Regions from separate parts of the Homo sapiens genome. Here region 1 is linked to region 2. Evidence: promoter capture Hi-C in human tissues and cell types (Jung and others, 2019). All regions are on one chromosome and are shown on one strand. The core of a region is centred on a gene start or on the middle of the fragment in contact, and the rest is flanking DNA. Distances in the headings are between cores, read along the strand shown. Region 1 has its middle 39 kb from the start of SNAPC3. Region 2 holds the start of CCDC171 (coiled-coil domain containing 171).

What was found. The method cuts DNA at HindIII sites, captures the fragments that hold promoters and counts their contacts. A contact is called where the count stands out against the background at its distance.
Region 1: a fragment that was not itself captured here is called in contact with the fragment with the promoter of CCDC171 in region 2 in 1 of the 25 tissues and cell types used here (heart left ventricle).

Annotation. Positions count from the first base shown.
Region 1 is chr9:15,382,034-15,385,562 of GRCh38, forward strand. No RefSeq gene overlaps it. Among named protein-coding and RNA genes, the nearest start is that of SNAPC3, 39 kb to the right of the region's middle. The HindIII fragment of the contact is 9,430 bases long and covers 1-3,529 here.
Region 2 is chr9:15,551,540-15,555,176 of GRCh38, forward strand. CCDC171 (coiled-coil domain containing 171) reads left to right here and starts at 1,504. Exons shown (of 26, transcript NM_173550.4): 1 at 1,504-1,763. RefSeq lists enhancers at 1,101-1,746, 1,642-1,811 and silencers at 1,202-1,261, 1,272-1,361. The HindIII fragment of the contact is 9,052 bases long and covers 1-3,637 here.

The DNA.
Region 1 (3,529 bases), core at 96-2,595, 170 kb before region 2:
TAGCTGGCCACAGTGGTACATACCTAGATTCCTAGCTACTTGGGAGGCTCAGGTGGGAGGATCGCTTGAGCCCAGGCTACAGTGAGCTATGATCCTGCCACTGCCTAGGTGACAGACCAAGACCCTGAATCTAAAAAAAAAAAAGAACCACTTCAAAGCCTTCTTATTTTCCTCTTAAAATGTTTTCATTGGTACCACAACAATTAATAGTAAAATAATTTTGATCAAAGTTTATTAATGCCATATTTCCCCCACCTAGAATAAAAGTAATTGGATGGTTATACTTCATGTGTCCATGTATCTAAATTTGTTTAATTCGCAAATGTGTGTATTCTCTCTCTCTGTTTTTTGGAGGACATTCTGATGGCATCCTGCTCAATGAACAAAATATGATTATTCTATTACTTGTTAAGAAAATTGTAAGTCTAGAAATCCATGTCAAAGCCCACTGGTCTTTTCTCTGAACTTGTGTAACACTTATTGTGTTGAATGAATAAATCTATTCGTTTATTTATGCAACAAACATTTATTAAGCACTGTGATGATCAGTTTATGTGTCTTCTTGGCTAGTCTATGGTGCCCAGTTGTTTGGTCAAAGGCTTGTCTACATGTTGCCGTCAAGGTATTTTTGACCAAGGTATAACAATTACTATCAGTTGACTTTAAGTTAAGCAGATTATTTCAATCAAGCTTCATCCCATCAGTTGAACGCTTCAAGGGCAAAGACTGAGGTTCCCTGAAGAAGAAGCAATTCTGTCTCAACAGAAAAATCCTACCTGACCTTCCAGGCTGCTGGCTTCCCTGAGATTTTTCAACTCAAGGCTGCAATATTAGCTCATACCAGAATTTCCAGCCTGCAAGTTTCAGACTTGCCATCCCCCACAATGATATGAACCAATTCCTTGAAATTAATCCTAATAGTTCTGTTTCTCTGTAGAACCATAAATAATATAAGCACCCCCTATGTGGTATGCACTATGCTCATCAATGAGGACCCAGACTGGCCAGGTGCAGTGGATCACATCTGTAATTTCAGCACTTAGGGAGGCTGAGGTGGGAGGATCGCCTGAGCCCAGGAGTTCAAGACCAGCCTGGGAAACATAGTGGGACCCCCATCTCTACAAACAATTAATTAAAAAAAAAAATTAGCCAGGTGTGATGGTGCATGCCTGTGGTTCCAGCTACTCAGGAGGAGGCTGAGGTGGGAGGATCCCTTAAGCCAAGGAGACCAAGGCTGCAGTGAGCTATGATCGAACCACGGCACTCCAGCCTTGGCTACAGAGTAAGACCCTGCCTCAAAAATATATATAAGTAAGTAAATAAATATGGACCCAGATAAACCTATTCAGGAGATGACCTCCCTTCAATGCAGAAGGAACATGTTAAGAGAGAAATCAGGATACCTCAAGTTAAGGGCTATGAGAGTAAGAAAAAAGTACTTGAGGAAATAAGCAAGGAGGTGGCTAATTCTGCCTGGGGGACCAGAGAAGTTATACCTAAAGAGGTGATATTTTATTTGGAACTCAGGGTGAGTAGGCATTCCCAGGGTTGATTAGGGGTAGAAGCCATTATAGGAACCAAGCCCGGAGCTTTTGTAATTCAAGAACATGTCCTAAGACCTAAATATTGCAGGAGCACATGACAAAACGCTGTAAGACCAGGATGAAAAAGATCAGGACCAAGTTGTGAAGATTATATTGAAACTGAGATGCCAACAGCTGAAAACTTTTTAGCTAACGTTGGTAGGGAAGTCTAGAATTAAGTGCTAGCTGGGACGTAGAAAGAAAAGGCAAAATAAACGTCATTTCAACATGGGAGAAAACTCTTCATTTTGTAGATAAAAGAGACTATGTCAAGAGAATGTAGCTCGTCATTCAAAAAACATTTAGTGAGTATCCTGGGCCGTGAAATGTTTTAGAGACTGGAAATATAACCATGTATAAGATATAGTCCTTAGGTTCAAGGACCATGTTGTCTAGGGGCCAGGCAGAAAGTTAATACATGCACCCCACCCACCCAAACCTGGAAAAACAGATTGCATTCCCAACATCATCCATCTCCTTGTAAAGTTTCCTGGTTATTTTTAGGAACCTCAGTAGTATCTATTATTCTCTCCATGTTTGGGTCCGGTTCCTGTCAAAGCTGTCTGCTATTGAGGTCTCTGATACCAGGGAAATCTGCCTGTGGCCAACCCCACTGCTCCCACCCACCTCCACAGGGCACCCACCTTCAATCCAGTGTCCCAGGTGGTGGGTTGACAGACGTATACTATATTTAAAAAATCATCAAGCTGTTGTATTAGTTCTCTATGGTAGCTGTGAAATATTGCAGCATTTTAGAATTAAAATGATGAGGCCGGGAGTGGTGGTTGAAGCCTGTAATCCCAGCACTTTGGGAGCCCGAGGCGGGTAGATCACCTGAGGTCAGAAGTTCAAGACCAGCCTGGTCAATATGATGAAACCCTGTCTCTACTAAAAATACAAAAAATTAGCTGGGCATGGTGGCAGGCGCCTGTAATCCCAGCTACTCAGGAGGCTGAGGCAGAAGAATTGCTTGAACCCAGGAGGCGGAGGTTGCAGTGAGCCAAGATCACACCATTGCACTCCAGCCTAGGCAACAAGAGCAAAACTCCAACTCAAAAAAAAAAAAAAAAGAATTAAAATGATGAATAATAAGTATTGGCAAGGATATGAGAAATGAGAACACTATTGGTAGGTGACTCCTACGATCATTCTGGGGGCATAATATGGCAGTACTTAATGAAATTTAACAAATGTGTTCCCCATGTTCCAACAACTTCCTCCTGGTAAAATATACACGAGACATTCTCACATAGATGTGCATGAGGCTACGTGTACAAGGATGTTCACTGCAATGTTTATGTGGTAAAGGGAAGTTCAAAATCCTAGGCCTGAGGCAGAAACACCTTCATGCAGCAGTTCTTAGGTTGGTGCAAAAGTAATTGCAGTTTTAACAATGAAGTACTGGTGAAAATTGCAATTACTTTTGCACCAACCTGAAATAAATGCAACTTGCTTTGATATATAACAATATAGACTTTTTAAAGGTTAGTGCTGAGCTTTTAAAAAGATAGAAAAGAACGAGATCCCTGGCAAAATACTAATTATGTGAATTTAAAAACATACACACAAAAATACTATGTATTTTATAAGAACACATTCAAGTTCAAGGTAGATATTAACACGTGAGAATTAGTGTCTACTGGAAGGAGGAGGAAATGGGAGTGCAGAACTAATCAACCAAAGGAGGTATTTCAAAAATGAAGTTTAAAAAAAAAAAAAAGGCCCAATTAAGGCGTCTCATGGCTGTAAATCCCAGCGCTTTGGGAGACCAAGGTGGGTGAATTCCTTAAGCCCAGGAGTTTGAGACTATCCTGGGCAACATGGTGAGACCCCTTTCTCTATTATTTAAAAAAAGAAAAAGAATAAATAAATAAATATCTTTTCATTAGCACATGTAACATTCTCCAGAGACCATATTTTAGGCTACAAAACAAGCCTATTGCATT
Region 2 (3,637 bases), core at 254-2,753:
AGCTACTCAGGAGGCTGAGGCAGGAGGATGGCTTGAGTCCTGAAGGTCTAGGCTGCAGCGAGGCGTGATTGTGCCGCTGTACTCTAGCCTGGGCAACAGAGAACAACCCTGTTTCAAAAAAAAAAAAAAAAAAAAGAAAAAGAAAAAAATAAAATTTAAAAATATTTTTTAAAGCTTGTAACATAAAAGTTCTAATCTCATTAGTCAGTTGTAATTTTCCATTTCATTTCTAAACTTTAGAGTGGGCTATTTTTTCCCTTTATTTCCTCTGGAGCAATTGTCCTCTTTATGGCTCTAGTAAAAAGAATCAGGGACAGGCCTCCGTTTTAGATGTAAATGACTAAAATCAAACCAATTAAGGTTTCAGTGCTACAAGAATCAAGGAGGTTTTAATCTCAATTTGTGTTTGCATTTATGACCGTTGGCTCTCCCATGGGAGAGAGAAAAGACGGCCCCTACACCTGGTTTCAGGTTGATTACAATCAACAAGGACCCAGTTTAGTATAGAAGGCTCGTTTTGCATTAAACACCTTTTTGTGCAGAGGAGGTGGTGGTGGTGAAGATAAAAATCTTTGACCAAATCCTGTCAATTTGCATTGTTCTCTGGAAGAATAGGCTTTCAAAAGTTAAGGAACAAAAGAGGAGTTGGTTTTCCAGTCTCCCTTAGGCGGCAGCAGATTGTGAAGCAGCCACCGGGAGGAACCAAAGTATAAATTATCAATAAGAGGACGGTGTGTGTGTGTGTGTGTGTGTGTGTGTGTGTGTGTGTGTGTGTGTCAGAGAAAAGTGAGAGAAGCGAGGAAAGAGATAGGGAACACACATGCTAAGGCTCCGAGGCGTTTTCCACGATGTGCCTGGTTACGTAATGTTGATAATGAAACGCACTGCAAGCAGCATCAATGCATTCTTCCGACCCTGCTCACCACTCCCAGCTGGGATACAATGGGGACGGGAAGAGGGGACAGGATGCCCTGTGCAGGCAGAGAGCTGTCCAGACAGAGGTAAACCAGGCAGTTGGGCAGAACCCGAGCCCAGAGAATTTCTCCCCAGGCCCCGGGACCAGCCCACCGTTGCTGTGGCTCTAAAGATGGGCAGAAGAACCAGTTTCAAAAAGCAGGATCTGGGATCCGACCTCTTAGGTTTTTATTCAGCAGGCAGGGAAAAGGGGTTAGAAGCTGGAAATCTGCATTTCCACTCGGCTCTGGCGACTGAGACAGGAACGCGGACACCTCACGCTGAAAAGCCACAGCAGCGCGTGGGCAGGGCGCACCCCCGCGCGGGGACGCGGAGCTCCTGGAGCGAGAGCGCGTGCGGTCGCGAGCCCGCCGCTCCCCAGCAACGGCGCATGCGCCCGTTCGTCCCTCAGCGAAGGCGCGCTGCTTGGCGGGCGGGCTCTTCCAATCCGAGCCAGCGTTCTCGGAGTACGTATCCAGGAGCTGCAAGCTGAGGGCTGCGGGAGGCGGGAGGAAAAAGTGGGGCCGGGCCTGAGTTGGGCTGACCTGTGAAAGTCTGGGAAGGTCTGCGAGAGAAGCGGAGTGTTTTCAGCTCCGGAAGTGGCAGTTGTAAACTTCACCTCCCGGGGGCTCTTCCCCTTCTGTACCCCTTTGCTGTTTGTCCCCCTCCTCCCGGGTCCTGGAGTCCGTCGTGTTCCAACAGTTTTTGCTCTTATTCCCGTGGGCTGCCTGGGCCTCCTTTCACCCGTGAGACTTGGAGCGGCCCCTGGGGTCTTGGGTGTGCAGCACGGATCACGCGAGACCCCTGAGGTAACCGCACGGTGTGGGGGCTTCGAGGCGGACGACTTGGGAGGGAGGTGTTGAGAGGGTTGTAGGGGCCCCTGAGTGAGTTTGGGGCGGCCCTGGGGCTGTTGGCGTAGGCTTTGGGGCACGCCTCCAGCTCCCTGGGCTGGGTCTCCCCGCCCACCTGGAGGAAGATCTCCGTGGAGCATCCTAGCCAGAGATCGCTGAGGCTGTACCAGAGCGCCGGATGGGGACCAGAGGGGAGGCAGAGGACCGGGATTTGGAGCTTCTTAGGGTTACTGCTGCGGAGCGCTTTCGTTCCCGAGAATCAGTAAGCCCCTCGAGGATAGGGACCACGTCTTTCAGCCCGCTCTCCCCTTTTTAAATGCCGGCCACACACTAGACACTCTACAGATGTTTGATAAACGGGAATGAGTTGTGCTAGACTGTCACCTGCAGCTTCTACCTACCCTCCAGGACTCTGAGAGACTTAGAATCTGAGTCAGCTGTGCGTTTTCCCGAAGCTGTAAATTTTCTGCAGAAATGGAGCCGACTTTTTGAATTTTTTTATTCCATTATGATATTGATCCTAAGAAAATACATATTTCATGTATACATTTTAGGTAAATGAGATAAATACGTCTTTATTTTGTTTATTAGAGTTGGTGTCCAGCTCTTTTGAATACATGACATACCGATGTTTTATGGTTTTCATAATATTGGAGAAAAGAACATACGATTTTGTCACTTTTTTTTTTTTTTGAGATGGAGTCTTGCTCTGTCACCCAGGCTGGAGTGCAGTGGCGCGATCTCGGCTCACTGCAAGCTCCGCCTCCCGGGTTCACGCCATTCTCCTGTCTCAGCCTCCCCAGCAGCCGGGACAACCGGCGCACGCCGCCACGCCCGGCTAATTTTTTTGTATTTTTAGTGGAGACGGGGTTTCACTGTGTTAGCCAGGATGGTCTCGATCTCCTGACATCGTGATCCGCCCGCCTCGGCCTCCCAAAGTGCTGGGATTACAGGCGTGAGCCACTGCGCCCGGCATGTCACTTATTTTATTTAACTGTTAGTTCCTACTCTCAACAAAACAGTGGTAGAGCAGAAGATGAACATGGTTTTTCATAAAATGCAGAGGAAACAAAGGCAGTGCAACCTGCTAAGAGGAAAGATGAAGGGCATAGTCTTAGTTTGTAGCTTTCTGTGTTAGTCTTGGGGCTCAGCCATTTATGAGCTGCGTCCCCACAGGCAAACCACCTAACCTTCCTAGGCGTTAGGTTCTTTATCTGTCAGATAAGGAGGAAGGACTTAGTCTCTAAAGTCTCATTTGATTCTAAAACGTTTTGGTTGTCTCAGTCCCTTGGTCTTGGTCTTGTTTTGATGTAAGAACCAAACTTCCCCTTTAAAGGTTGATTATGTACCTATGCTGAGAAACACTTCCAACACAGGTGTGGTTACTAATGAAGACAGCACTGCGTAGTGAAAGAGGATGGACTTAGCCAGATGTGGATTTGAATTCTCATTTTCCGGCTGAATATTTTTACACAAATTATTCAACATCTCCAAGCCTCAGTTTTCTTATCTGTGAAATGTGCATAATCTCATAGAGATGTTGGGATTAAATGAGATCAGGAATGCTGATCTCAGTATCTGGCATATAGTAAGTGGCTCAATAATAGGAATTTCTATTTTTTCATCCACCCATCCCTCGTTTTTCCTCTGATCTGTGCAGACACACTGAAAGATGAGTGCATTTGGGATGACCAACTGAAGGACTCAGATGTAAGGTAGAAAAATTTTTTACCAGTAGTGGCTCCGAAATCTAAAGTAGATTCGCCTTTCTGGCTGGCACCTCCTCTCAGGATGTCGGGATCACTGATCCCTTGGCCTCAATTACCCTTTTA